5 separate regions of the Homo sapiens genome follow, and all the other regions are linked to region 1. The links are contacts of gene promoters, found by promoter capture Hi-C in blood cells and fetal thymus (Javierre and others, 2016). All regions are on one chromosome and are shown on one strand. The core of a region is centred on a gene start or on the middle of the fragment in contact, and the rest is flanking DNA. Distances in the headings are between cores, read along the strand shown.

Region 1 (2,669 bases), core at 108-2,607:
CCAGTGGCCTAGGAATCAGTATTTCTTAAATATCCATTAGAGCTTCTGCATCGAACCACGTTAGGGAACAACTGATTTAATCAACACACTGATTTACTTAGGAGCTTTTGACTTAGCCTCACTCCATTAAGCCCCCATAGACTGCTCTGCTTTCCAAATGCTTATGTTCACTTTTTACAGTTTTTCTCTGGTCTCCCCTGCATTTACGGTCACCTCCAATTTCCCGCCTCCTTCTCTCTCCAAAAACACACAGCTCAGCTTTTCAAAGTTAGAATAATGCATGTAGTAATCGTAAATAAACTGCACGAAGAGCTGAGATTTCTTTCTATCTCTACGGAGTCCTGAAATGTATGAACTCTGTGACATGTGCTTTAGTCAACTTTCTTTCTAGGAGTTTGGCCCCTCTTGCCTTGCCCTCTACAGACAGTCTTCATTTTCTAAAATTTTGCATGCCAGTGCCCAGAGTGTATTTATTAACAGTTTGAAACTGTCATAAATCTCACTTGGCAGTGATTTTCTTATTAGTTTCAGCATCTCTGCCTTAGCACTGCCAAGCTTGAATGGTCTAGACATTGTCTTCAAAAATAACTCCCTCTGGGACAGGCCTGAAAGTCTCTGGCACAGGATCCCATCTATCTATGGATACTTCTCCTAGGAGATTAGAAGTCTTCCTGGCAGGCAAACATTTTGTCCCTGGAGATCCATCCACTATGGCCAGTATTATGTAAAGGATAAGAGTTCAATGGTTCACATCCATTGAATATAATTCAGTCAACAAAAGAGTGGATTATGCATATATTGCATATATGCAACTCATTTATAACCAAGGAAGAGAGGACCAACAGAAAGTTACAGTTTGGGGAGATTTAAAAATAACTGAACTTATATTGGGGACGTCTTGCTCTTGGAGATAAAAATGGCTCTTATTGCCAGCTGTTGCTCGTTTTTTGGTGGGCGGTATCAAGCATGTGATGCTTTGGTGGCTACACCAGATTCTCTTTTGCAGAACTTGCATGAAGGGTGTGGGTTCCATCCAATCTGTTATCCCCTGTTCCTTCATCCATCCCATTGCCATGCGAGTCTTACTGAGGAGGTGATCTTTACTAGAGGCCACGGATCATTTTTCCATTTCTGCATACATACAAAATTAAAGTTCACCTTGGCCCAGGACCCCTTTGGGGGGGTCACGCCCCCTGCGCCGACGTCCTGGGAGCTAGCGGTGCGCAAGCTCGGCTCACACACACCCCGCCCCGGGGCCTCCTGGGAACTGTAGTAGGCGGCTCGCGAATCCCCGCCGCCATGACAGGACCCGGACTACAGCTCCCGAAAGGCCTCGCGCGTCGCGCCTGCGCCTGCGTCCCTGCGGCCGCCAGAGGGAGGGTTAAGGCGCCTGGGCGCACAGCGAGCCGGCTGAGGGGGCTGTGGCGGCCGCGGCGGGCGACATGGACAACGCGGGGAAGGAGCGTGAGGCAGTACAGCTGATGGCGGAGGCCGAGAAGCGAGTCAAGGCCTCCCACTCCTTCCTCCGAGGGCTGTTTGGGTGAGCGCCAGACCGTGCGTGCCCTGGGGGGGGGGGGTCTCCGTACTTGGCCCCCTTCCTTTCAGGCTGACCCCCCGAGTCCCCCACGCAACCTCTGGGGCCCTCAGACCACGTCTAGGGGCCCTCAGCCTGCAGGCGCCCTCCAGAAATCCTGTAGGGTCCCCCAGCGCCCCCTGGAGCCCCCAGGACGCCCAGGGGCCCTCAGTCCGCACGCGCCCTCCAGAGACCCCACAGGCCCCCCCAGGGTCCCTGGAAACCCCGCATCCTCCCAGGGGCTCTCAGCCCCCACGCGCACTTTAGAGACCCCCTAGGGCCGGCAGAACTCCCCAGGGTTCCTCAGCCCCCACACGCTCTCCGGATCCCCTAACACGCCCCCTTAGAATCCCCAGAGTCTCACAGGGACCCTCAGCCCCCACGCGCCTTTCAGAGAACCCCTAGGACCCCCAGAGCTCCCCAAGCGCCCCACGAAGCCCCTAGAACACTCTGGGGGGGGGGCTGTCAGCCTCACGCGCCCTCTGGAGACCCCAGATCGCCCCCCTCGCCCTGGCCCGGGTTGGTGCGGGGGTCCCACGACCTAGAAGGTCAGCGGCTCCCTGAGGCCCGCGGGCGCGGTAGCTCGGGGCGCGCGTGGGGCCCCCTTCTCAGTGCGTAGCGAGTCGTATTGGTGCATTTCGCCACGCTGAAGCCCGTATCGCTCCTGAGACCGGTCCGGGTGAGGCGCGCCGGGGTGGAGCCGGAGGGGTGGGTGCGGGGGCCGCCCCCGGCGCCTGGAACGCGCACCTGGGGGCGTCCCGCCTGCAGGTGGGCCCCGCCGGGGAGGGGGCGGTCCGGCGAGGGATCCAGAGCTGGTGTGCTTGTTGGCCTCTCTCCAGGGGCCTTGCGCCGAGTACACCTTTAGTAAATACTTGACTAATGAACGAATATATTTTCTCAGCATAGTATTTTTCCTTCTCCGGAGATTGATTGATAGCCAGAGCCTCCTGTTTGATTAACGGTAACGCTGCTGCTGTTTAAGTCAGGCGTCCTTTGGGAATCCCTTTAATTTCCTGTAATTCTTCCGTGCTCTCCTAAGGAGGATTTTAAATTCCAACCTCTCAAAAAGCAGAGCCCGCACTGACAGCCCGGAAGA
Region 2 (2,669 bases), core at 49-2,548, 2.7 Mb after region 1:
CAGCCTCCCAAGTAGCTGGGATTACAGGTGCCTGCCACCACACCCAGCTAACTTTTGTATTTTTAGTAGAGACAGGGTTTCACCATGTTGGCCAGGCTGATCTCGAACTCCTGACCTCAAGTGATCCGTCTGCCTCGGCCTCCCAAAGTGCTGGGGTTACAGGTGTGGGCCACTGCGTCCAGCAAATAGAAAAGAATGTATGGCCTTCTTTTTATTCATTCATTTCATTCATGTATGACATTTGTTTGTTTGTTTTTGTTTAGTTTTTTTTTTTTTTTTTTTTGAGATGGAGTCTCGCTTTGTCACCAGACTGAGTGCAGTGGTGCCATCTCGGCTTACTGCAACCTCCAACTCCCTGGTTCAAACGATTCTCCTGCCTCAGTCTCCCCAGTAGCTGAGATTACAGGCATGCATCACCACGCCCAGCTAATTTTTGCATTTGTAGTAAAGACAGGGTTTCACCATCTTGCCCAGGATAGTCTCAGCCACCTGCCTTGGCCTTCCAAAGTGCTGGGATTACAGGCGTGAGCCACCACGCCTGGCCAACACATGCTGTATTTTTAAATTATGAGTTCAAATGGATATTTGAAGTAAAATCTAGTATTACAGAGTTTTCACATTTTCTTTGATGTGATATTTTTGTATCTCCTTTCTCTTACACTGAAAATCTTGGTTCTTAATAATAATTATTAATTCTTTGCAGATCTTTTTGCCCTTAGAATACATCCCTCTAAGGAGGTACAATCAGAATACTGTTTTCAAAAATCACTTGAAATAATTATTTTCTCTATATAGTTATGCTACCAATTACATATACGGTTGGGTTTATTTTTTCATTTATTTTTGATTTTCAGGTTTGTCTTTTTCTATTTTAATTTTTGAATATGTAAAACATTTATATGGTTCAAAAGTGAAAAAAATATAAAAAGGTATACTCAGAGAGGACCCTGTTTCATTCCTTTCCACCTCATCCTCCATCCCACTTAGGTAGGAATTGATGTTAGCTTTTTATTTATCCTTCCAGTGTTTCTTTTTGAAAAAAAAATTTTTAATATTCTGTTCCTTTTATATTTAACAACGTATCTGGAAAATTATGTCAAGTCAGTACACGCGAAATTTTCCCATTATTTTTAAACAGCTGCATAGTACTCCATAGTGCTACACTGTGTGGATGAACTGGATTAAATTAGCCACTTATAGATGTATGTGTATATAAGTACCTTGTTAGACAATCACAGGGTTCTCTCTGGTATCTGGTCATACTCGTTTTCTAGAGTGGCTGCAACAGATTACCACAAATTGCGTGGCTTAAAACAACAGAAATTTATTTTCTCACGGTTCTGGAATCCTGAAGTCTGAAATCAAGGTGTTGGGCTTCCTCTGGAAGACTCCAAGGGAGAATCCTTTCTTGCCTCTTCCAGTTTCTCTTGGCTATAAGGGTCTTTTCGTTTGTGGCTCCATAACCTCAATCTCTACCTTGGTCTTCATGTGCCCTTCTCCTTTGTTTCTATGTTTTCACTTCTTTTGTTTCTTACAAGCACATTTGTCATTGGATTTAGGGTCTACCCAGATAACTGAGGATCTTATTATATTTGCAAAGATCCTTCTGCCAAATAAAGTCTCAGTCACAGTTTTCAGGGATTAGGACATAGACATATCTTTTTGGGGGGAAGGGTGGGCACTGTTCAACCCACTACATTGGCTATTATAAATAGTGGTGAAAGGAATAAACTTCCATGCATGGTTTTATATTTATTTCTCCATAGAGTTATCCTACCAATTACATATATTGTTAGTTTTATTTTTTCCATTTATTTTTTATTTTCAGGCTTGTCTTTTTCTGTTTCAATTTTTGAATATGGAAAACATTTACATGGTTCAAAAATGAAAAAAATATAAAAAGATATACTCAGAGAGGACACTGAGTCCTTTCCACCTCATCCTCTATCCCACTTAGGTAGGCATTAATGTTAAGGTTTTTTTTTAAATCCTTCCAGTGTTATATATTAGAATATCTGCAGGGTAGATTCCTAGAAGTCAAAATTCTGGCTGGGTGTGGTGGTTCACACCTGTAATCCCAGCATTCTGGGAGGCTGAGGCCCGTGGATCACTTGAGGTCAGGCGTTCAAGAGCAGCCTGGCCAACATGGTGAAACTCTGTCTCTACTAAAAATACAAAAATTAGCCAGGCATGGTGGCACATGCCTGTAATTCCAGCTACTCAGGAGGCTGAGGCAGGAGAATCGCTTGAACCTGATAGGCAGAAGTTGCAGTGAGCTGAAATCACACCACTGCACTCCAGCCTGGGGGACAGAGCAAGACTGTCAAAAAAAAAAAAAAACAACAAAACATGGGAGGCCAAAGCCCATGGATCACCTGAGGTCAGATGTTCAAGACCAGCCTGGCCAACATGACAAAACCCCCTCTCCACTAAAAATACAAAAAAATTAGCCAGTCGTGGTTGCGCACGCCTGTAATCCCGGCTAATCGGGAGGCTGAGGCAGGAGAATCGTTTGGACCTGGCGAGATAGCTCCACTGCACTCCAGCCTGGGTGACAGAGCCAGACTTCATCTCAAAAAAAAAAAAAAAAAAAAGAAAAAGAAAAAAGAAAAAAAGAAATTGAAATTCTGGGTCAAAAGGCAAATATTTATTTTTGCCAAATTTCCTTC
Region 3 (2,669 bases), core at 70-2,569, 2.3 Mb after region 1:
CCTTTGCATAATGTTAAATGGAAACTACTATTTAACCAAAATTCATTTAATGGGAATATGGGGTCCAAAATCCAGACACAGAATCTTCACTTGGGGAACACAACCCATGGGTTGCAGTATGCCTATGTTAAAAAGAAAAAAAAAAGATTAAAAGGAAAAAAATTACAAAAACACACATTTTTAACTAATAGCATCACAAATCTTTACCTTCTCACTAGTAAGAGTGAACTTAGAATAGAAGTGAAGGAAACATAGCATAATTGCTTCCACATTAGAAATTTTTATTAGTTACCATTCCCCCCCTAGAGTTTCATGATCAATTGGGTACTTGGTTCATGCAGAATGAATGACTGGATAGTGTGAGCAACTTGTCATTAAATTACAAAGAAAGGAAGACCTCTGAATACATCTATGACCCCATGCCCTGAGGTAGTGCTTCATTTCTGTTGTATTCCTAAGAAAGCACGACTGCAGTCTGGTAATGAGACACCATCAGATAGACTCAGCTTGAGGGTCACCCTCTAGAATGAAAGCTGTACTCTATGAACTTGTCAGGAACATGAAAGACAGGGAAAGACTGAGGAATCGTTCCAGATGTAGGGAGACTGAAGAGACATGCCAGCCAAATGCAACCGCGGTTTGCAGGTGAGCCACTGGACCAGGGGGAAAAAAAAGGGAGCATCGTTAAGATAGCTGGTGAAATCTGATGCAGTCTGCGGACTGGTTTCACCACTAGGAGGGCTGTATGGTGTGATCATGTACAAGAACATCCTTGGCTTTTGGAAACACACATTGAAGATTTTAGGAGTGATGAGGCATCATATATGCACTTCTCAAACAGATCAGAAAAGGCTAATGGTTTTAGATAGACAGATTTAAATAGATACCCAACTGATATCTCAGTGTCAAAAATCTAATAAAATGTTAATAGTTGAGGGATCTGGGTGACAGGAACACTGGAGGTCTTTGTCCTATATTCGCAACTTTTTTGTAAGCTAGAATTTACTTTAAAAAATATATATATATATACACACATTTTTTTTTTTTGAGATGGAGTCTCACTCTGTTGCCCAAGCTGGAGTACAATGGCACAATCTCAGCTCACTGCAACCTCTCCCTCCTGGGTTTAAGGGATTCTGTTTCAGTTTCCCAAGTAGCTAGGATTACAGGCATGCGCCACCACACCCAATTAATTTTTGTATTTTTAGTAGAGACGGGGTTTTGCCATGTTGGCCAGGCTGGTCTCAAACTCCTCACCTCAGGTGATCCACCCGCCTCTGCCTCTCAAAGTGCCGGGATTATAGGTGTGAGCCACCACGCCCAGCCACTTTAAAATAATTTCTAAAATTCACCTATGACTTCTAGTGAAAAAGGACCACAGTCACTTTGGAAATCCACCACCTCCCAAGCAGCAAGTTCTTCTTAGTAATGAATGTAAAATTTATTTGTAAAACATCTTCAGCAGATGCAGACATCTGCTGCTCACACTTCTCTATCATAACACTTCATACCCTGATAATCAAACTCCTCTTGGCTTTCTCTCCCAGGCAAAACGGTGGTAATCTTGTTAACTCTTCTTCACAGGCCTATTTTCTAGCCCCTCATCCACACTGCAGCACCTCAGAATGCTGAGCCCTCCATGTCTTTTTAAAATTTAATACTAAAAACCAGATATTTGCCTCAATGAAAAGCCTTTCCATGGCTTGCAATTCTTACATATTAAATCTCTATTCAGAATCTTTGAAATACCCATCCCTGGGATGCTTACCCATAGTTCATGTTTTCAGTCACCCCTCACTTGGACCTTTCAGTTTTACACAGCTAAGTGGTCCTTATCTTGCTGAGTTTTCTACTTTTAAGCCACTTGTTATTCTGTTTTTGTCTCGATACCACAATTCTATACCATCTTCAGCTTACTCTACTAATATCTCAGTGTCAGTTTCTAGACTATTATGATATCTTACTCTGAATCAATATAGGCACTGAAAAAACCGCGGCTGGCTAATGGGCCCTTTTAAAAGGATGTTTTTGTATAACCGTAAGAGCCAATTCCACTTATAAGTTTCTACCATGCTTGTGGGTGCTATACACACTGTAACAAGTCACTCCATTAGACTCTTTTAGATTCAATTATTGACTTTCACCACAATGCAGAAAAAACACTGTACACACATAGGAAAACATTCAGACGATAAAATTACATCTACGTGTAACTACAGCTAACATGACTTGGGCTGGAAATATGCTGGTTATTTGACCAGCTAACATTGCAATGACCACCTCTAAAAGGGCTGAGAAAGAGGGAGTTTTTTTTTGTCTCCCACTTCCCAGAAGTTTCTGGATTGATAAAGCAGCTGTGACTACCCAGGGTTGCTCCCTATGAAATGACTCAGGAATTTTAGGAGACAGTGGTATCTGTGATCAGTGGGATGCTTTGTGTTTCTTTGTTTAAAAAGGTACAACCAAGGCCGGGTGCAGTGGCTCACACCTGTAATCCCAACACTTTGGAAGGCAGAGGCAGGCAGATCACCTGAGGTCAGGGGTTCGAGATCAGCCTGGCCAACATGGTGAAACCCCATCTCCACTAAAAATACAAAAATTAGCTGGGGTTGGTGGTGGGCGCCTGTAATCCCAGCTACTAGGGAGGCTGAGGCAGGACAATCGCTTGA
Region 4 (2,669 bases), core at 68-2,567, 2.3 Mb before region 1:
AGTCATTAAAAGAATGAAATTCTGTCATTTTCAATAGCATGTATGAAAATGGAGGACATTATGTTAAGCGAAATGAGGCACAGCATGACAAATATCACATGTGCTCACTCATTTGTGGGGCTAAAAACGTGAACTCATGGAGATGGAGAGTAGAATGAGATAGTTAACAGAGGCTGGGAAGGATGGTGGGTAGAGGAGATAAAGAGGGACTTGTTAATCGATACAAAAATACAGTTAGAATGAATAAGATCTAGTAGTTGGTAGCACTATACAGTGACTATAGTTAAGAACAATTTTACTATATATTTAAAAATAAGAGAGAATTGGAAACTTCCTAAAACAAAGAAATGCTAAATGCTTGAGGGGATGGATACCCCAATCACCCTCATTTGACCATTAAACACTGTATGCCTGTATCAAAACATAACATGTACCCTATAAATATGTACAACTAATATTTATCCAGAATAATTAAAAATTTAAAAACCAAAAGAGAAAAAGCAAACAGCAAGTATACCTAGTAAAGGCCTGAAATATAAAGTCTACGTGGTTTGGCAAGCCACAAAAGATATCAGCATATTATACACCCTACATAATGAAAGAATTCTGGCATTGATGCATAATTAGATAAATGGGGGAACAATTAGAAATTGAAATGCAAATGTAAATTGAGTATACTGAATTATGTAGCTGAAACCTTAAATTATTTGGTAAAAGACTATATTTTTAATAAATTTAATGGGAAATTAATAAAATATTAGAAAATTTTAAAAATAATTGTATATTTACAGTGTGTACCTGGAGAAAAATTAAACCATTGAGAGATCTAAATGTGAATGATAAAACCACAAAATCCGTAGGAAAATCAGAGATCAAAAGTACTACATAGCAAAAAAAAGAAACAAAAGAAAAAAAAAAGACATACCCATAATCAAAAGACAGTGGGAAAATTATTTACCTATATCATAGAAATGGGAAAATATGCTTAATGTATGTATAGGGCTACCTAAATAAAAGAAATCGCCGGTTCTGAAAGGATCCCTCCACGTCCAAACGACCATAGGCTCGCCCCACCTGTCAGAGAGGAGTCCTTCCGAGAAGTCCTTCCAAGGATTCCGGGTCGCGCAGTCCCGGGTGGACCGCTATGACCAATATTCTGGGGCGTGTACCTGGACGACTCCCGAGGACTCTGGGGAGTGTAGTCCACCGAGGGGATGCGACGCGCAGGGTCGCATAGCCTCCGGGCCGCGCCGAGGATGCTGGGTAGCGTAGTCCCGGCCGCGCTGAGGATTCTGGGTAGTGTAGTCCCGGGCGGCGCAGAGCGTTCCAGATCCCTGGGCGTCAGCGAGCCGTGAGATGCGTGGTCCACCATCGGTGACCTCACCGCCTCGGTTCGCCCTCAGCCGCCCCGGTGAGCTGCGCTCCTGCGGGTCCCTCTCTGCAGCGCGCCCTTCCGGCGCAGGAAGAAGGGCCGGGAAGGCCTGGGACGTGAGGGCGCTGCTGGGGCCGTAGCGCGCGCTCCTCCAGGCCCGGCGTCTCCGCGTTCTGGGGAGGGGCGGAGACCCAGGCCGCGCCTTGAAGTGGGCGGTGGGGCTGCGGCTTGCCGAGCGCCCCGGGTCTGGGCCGCCACTCAGTCTCCGTTCCCGGTTGCGTGTAGTGGCGGCTCGGGCGGTGAACAGCCCGGATTTCACAGGGGCGCCGAGCAACCCAGGTCCTCTTGTGCCAGGGTCGCCGCTCCTCGGGTGGGGACGGGCCAGCGGCCTAGCGAGCTGCCACGGGGGTCTTTTGGCCGGAGGTGGAGGGGGACTCGGCCACAGCCAGGGTCCACTGGTGGGGTGGGGGTTACAGCCATGAGACGGATGGGCTAGGTCCGACTCGGGTTCCCTCCGACTCTGATGCTCCAGACTTTATTGTGGGAGGCGGGACAGGGGAGGACTTCGCCCGCGTGTTTTGGGGAAGGGCCGCTGCTTTGGGTTGGGAGCACCCCGCCTTGGGACGATCTTCCGCGGATAGGAGTGTAGGCCGGGACCAAATGTCCTCGCACGGGCACGTCTAGACGTGTTTTGGTGGGGGGGGGGGGGGATCTGCGTGGGGCAGCGTCCGCGGGAGGTGAGGTGGCTGTGGGGACCCAGGTGGCCTCTTCCCTGGGGCCTTGCTAATGACGGCAAAATCCGGGTTCTGCCAAAATATATTTAAAAAGGTTTATTCCTAGTCAGTATGAGTGACTGTGGCCCAGGTTATTCAGCCTCAAGAGGTCCTGTGAAAGTGCCCGAGATGGTCAGGCTTGCAGGTTAATTTTATACAATTCAGGGAGACAGGAATTTCAGGTAAAGTCATAAATCAGGCTGAGCAGTGTGGCTCATGCCTGTAGTCCCAGCACTTTGGGAGGCCAGGAGTTCCAGAGCAGCCTGGGCAGCACAGCAAGACCCTGTCTCTACATGAAATTAGAAAAATAAAAAAATTAGCGGGGCGTGGTGTCCCATGCCTGTGGCCTCAGCTACTTGGGAGGCCCAGTCAGTTGAGTCCAGGAGGTGGAGGCTGTAACCAGCTATGTTGGCTGCACTGCACGCTAGCCTGGGTAACACAGCGAGATCCTGCCTCCAAAAAGAAAATCATAAATCAATAAGAGAAAGATATACACGGGTTCCTCCCAAAAAGCTGGTATATCT
Region 5 (2,669 bases), core at 61-2,560, 2.2 Mb before region 1:
AAATACCTACTGTAAATAACGAGTTAATGGGTGCAGCACACCAACATGACACATATATACCTATGTAACAAACCTGCACGTTGTGCACATGTACCCTAGAACTTAAAGTATAATTAAAAAAAAGAAAAAAGAAAACAGAGGGGCTCCGTTACAGGCTTCAAACAGAGAGAAAGCCAGAGCCACCTACAGCCGAGTCAATGTGGGGATTCCTGCAATGCCTCGGCCAACTGAAGGGTAGAGCATGAAACACACAGTCATTTGATGGTAATTATCTTGAAAAGATCAGACCAGTGATATTTCTGCAAGGAGACCAATTCTACCACAATTCCTTCCATCTATTAGTCACCATCTCACAATTATTTTGCCTTTTCTAATCAGCAGCTAGGCATTTGAAGCCCTTTCTTGAACACATTTATCATCTCCAATTTTGTGGACAGAATCAATTTTATTTACCCATGCTAAGCCTACCACAATCTCATTTGTAATTAGAGAAGTATGCATGAGGGAAAGGATTTGTTGTTGCTAAATTAGGTCCAATGTTCCCATCCTTGGCGTGTCTGGTGTGTTTATAACATGCCCTCCGCGGCTGGTGGCAGGTGGACTCAGGGTGCCCAACAATGTTCTTCCCTAAATCAAAGCTCATCGTGATTTTTCCTATCTAAGTTGCTTCAGGAATCGTCCCAGCTGTCCCCAGACTGTCCAGGGAGTTCCCTGCTGGAGATTGTTCCCAGTCCACTAGAGCTGAACCTGAAATTGATTTTGCCTAACTCTAGTAAGATCTGCAGACAAGGAAGAAACCAGGAAATGGTGGCCAAAGAAAGACACCGTGGCACCTCAAAAGTGACAAAACATTGAGAAGCAATGCCCCTCGTAATTCTCCATCTCTGTCCAAATGGGCACTTCCTGGGAAACCAAGAATGCACTTCTCATCAGCAGAAGGGTATCTTAGGAAGGACATTCACTGCCCATTCCTCACCCAACCCTTGGTGGTTCCAGGCTTCACCTGAATGGGTGTCTCTCCTTCTCCTGATGGCAAACTCAAGGGCTCTGAAGAGCTAATATGTTTCCAGGTCAGGAATGACCCAAGATATAACTCAGTCTGTGTTATAACTCCCCTTTTTCTAACCCTTTTAACTTCCCAGTACAGAGCAGACAGCTGTGCTCAGGAACCGTGTCTCCAGCAGCAGTTTTCCCCCTTTTCCTGTTAAAGTCCTACCTGAGAGCCTACCCCATGGAGAAGCCTCATAGGAATTAAGATATTCCAGATATTCTTAGGAAAATGAAATATTGAAGAATGGCTTCCTGAGCCGATAATGGTGGTATATTTGAAAAACAGACCAGAGTGCGATGTTTAAAAGCCTGAAGTCATAAAAGGTATTATGAACGGATGGATGGGGAACCTCTACAAGCAGAATTCATTGATGTCACTGTAAACGATGAATGCTGTCACTCTTTTTTATATATAACAAAAAGATACGCTGCTGCATCCAGACCTCATTGGAGAAGTTGTCAGACTCACTGAAATGGCATTGCATAAGCTATTTATGATGATATGAGGGAAAATATAAGGTTAAGAGATCTTTATCTACTATCTATGGAAATGTGCTTCCACACAAAGGCGGTACATGAAATAACCTTCCGGATAACCCATGACATTGGGGGCACTGTAAAGTGAGATTAACTAGCAGAGACAAATCTGCACTCAAATTGTTTGTGCTCAACCCTGATGCCTTGGCCTCATGAACACACAGTTGTTTTTCTAGCTTTCTCTATGTAAAATCCCACTCCGAATTTTACAGCACTCGTTGGTGTGACAGATTCACAAGTGAACCAACAAAAAATTCATGCTCCACCTTCCAGAAGATAGAGGGGCTGCTGGGAACAGCTGCCCAGCCACAGATGACATCTCCCAGCCACCTTTGTCTTTGTCATGGCCAAACCATAGGCTACAAGCAGAGGGGAAGTGGTCATTTCCAGGCCAGGGTTTTTCAAAATCAGGTGTGCTTCCCCGATGATCTCTCCAGGTTTCCAGTGCCCGGGGATAGAAGATTCCCAGGTTCTAGGGGATGGCGAAGCTATGACAAGAAAAACCCTGGGCCTTGCGTCACCCCATGGAGAAATGACACTATCAACCCAGGACCAATCCACACCACACTTTATATAAATGAGAAGTGAACTTCTATTTCACTGCCCAGACAACTAAAATTTGCAGTTTGTTACAACAGTTAGTGTTATCTTTATTAGTTGATATGGCTTGGGTCTGTGTCCCCACTCAAATTTCATGTCGAATTGTAATCACCAGTGTTGGAGGAGAGGCCTGGTGGGAGATGATTGAATCATGGGGGCAGACGTCCCCCTTGCTGTTCTTGAGATAGAGGTCTCATAAGATCTGGTTGACTGAAAGTGTGTAGCACCTCCCCACCTCCTCTCTCCTGCCAGCCATGTGAAGATGTGCTTGCTTTCTCTTCACCTTCCACCCTGATTGTAAGTTTCCTGAGGCCTCCCCAAAAGCAGAAGTCTATATAGGCCAAAGAACCATAAGCCAATTAAGCCTCTTTTCTTTGTAAATTAAAAAAAAAAAAATTAGCCAAGCATGCTGCCACATGGTGGTGGGAGGACCACTTGAGCCCAGGAGACAGAAGTTGCAGTGAGCCGAGATTGTGCCACTG

What was found. Contacts are between HindIII fragments. The CHiCAGO score rates a contact against its expected background, and 5 or more counts as called.
Region 2: a contact is called between a fragment that was not itself captured here and the fragment with the promoter of NAPB in region 1, in 4 of 17 cell types (naive CD8 T cells, naive CD4 T cells, non-activated CD4 T cells and 1 more). The highest score is 9.3, in naive CD8 T cells.
Region 3: a fragment that was not itself captured here is called in contact with the fragment with the promoter of NAPB in region 1 in 3 of 17 cell types (total CD4 T cells, non-activated CD4 T cells and naive CD8 T cells); the score reaches 9.7 in total CD4 T cells.
Region 4: a contact is called between the fragment with the promoter of ZNF337 here and the fragment with the promoter of NAPB in region 1, in 6 of 17 cell types (total B cells, total CD4 T cells, non-activated CD4 T cells and 3 more). The highest score is 17.6, in total B cells.
Region 5: a contact is called between a fragment that was not itself captured here and the fragment with the promoter of NAPB in region 1, in 1 of 17 cell types (total B cells). The highest score is 5.1, in total B cells.

The regions. Positions count from the first base shown.
Region 1 is chr20:23,420,176-23,422,844 of GRCh38, reverse strand. It overlaps NAPB (NSF attachment protein beta), which reads left to right and starts at 1,357. Exons shown (of 11, transcript NM_022080.3): 1 at 1,357-1,540. The coding sequence starts at 1,443. RefSeq lists an enhancer at 979-1,168 and silencers at 1,419-1,508, 2,139-2,368. The HindIII fragment of the contact is 2,788 bases long and covers 558-2,669 here.
Region 2 is chr20:20,715,096-20,717,764 of GRCh38, reverse strand. No RefSeq gene overlaps it. Among named protein-coding and RNA genes, the nearest start is that of RALGAPA2, 3.8 kb to the right of the region's middle. The HindIII fragment of the contact is 3,801 bases long and covers 1-2,669 here.
Region 3 is chr20:21,128,110-21,130,778 of GRCh38, reverse strand. The region is part of intron 1 of KIZ (kizuna centrosomal protein); the gene reads right to left. Among named protein-coding and RNA genes, the nearest start is that of KIZ, 3.4 kb to the right of the region's middle. The HindIII fragment of the contact is 7,603 bases long and covers 1-2,669 here.
Region 4 is chr20:25,695,501-25,698,169 of GRCh38, reverse strand. It overlaps ZNF337 (zinc finger protein 337), which reads left to right and starts at 1,317. Exons shown (of 5, transcript NM_015655.4): 1 at 1,317-1,411. It overlaps LOC107985400 (a long non-coding RNA gene), which reads right to left and starts at 1,129. Exons shown (of 2, transcript XR_007067557.1): 1 at 1,007-1,129. RefSeq lists an enhancer at 1,804-1,913. The HindIII fragment of the contact is 13,942 bases long and covers 1-2,669 here.
Region 5 is chr20:25,627,910-25,630,578 of GRCh38, reverse strand. All of the region lies in intron 1 of ZNF337-AS1 (ZNF337 antisense RNA 1), which reads right to left. Among named protein-coding and RNA genes, the nearest start is that of ZNF337-AS1, 5.2 kb to the right of the region's middle. The HindIII fragment of the contact is 6,800 bases long and covers 1-2,669 here.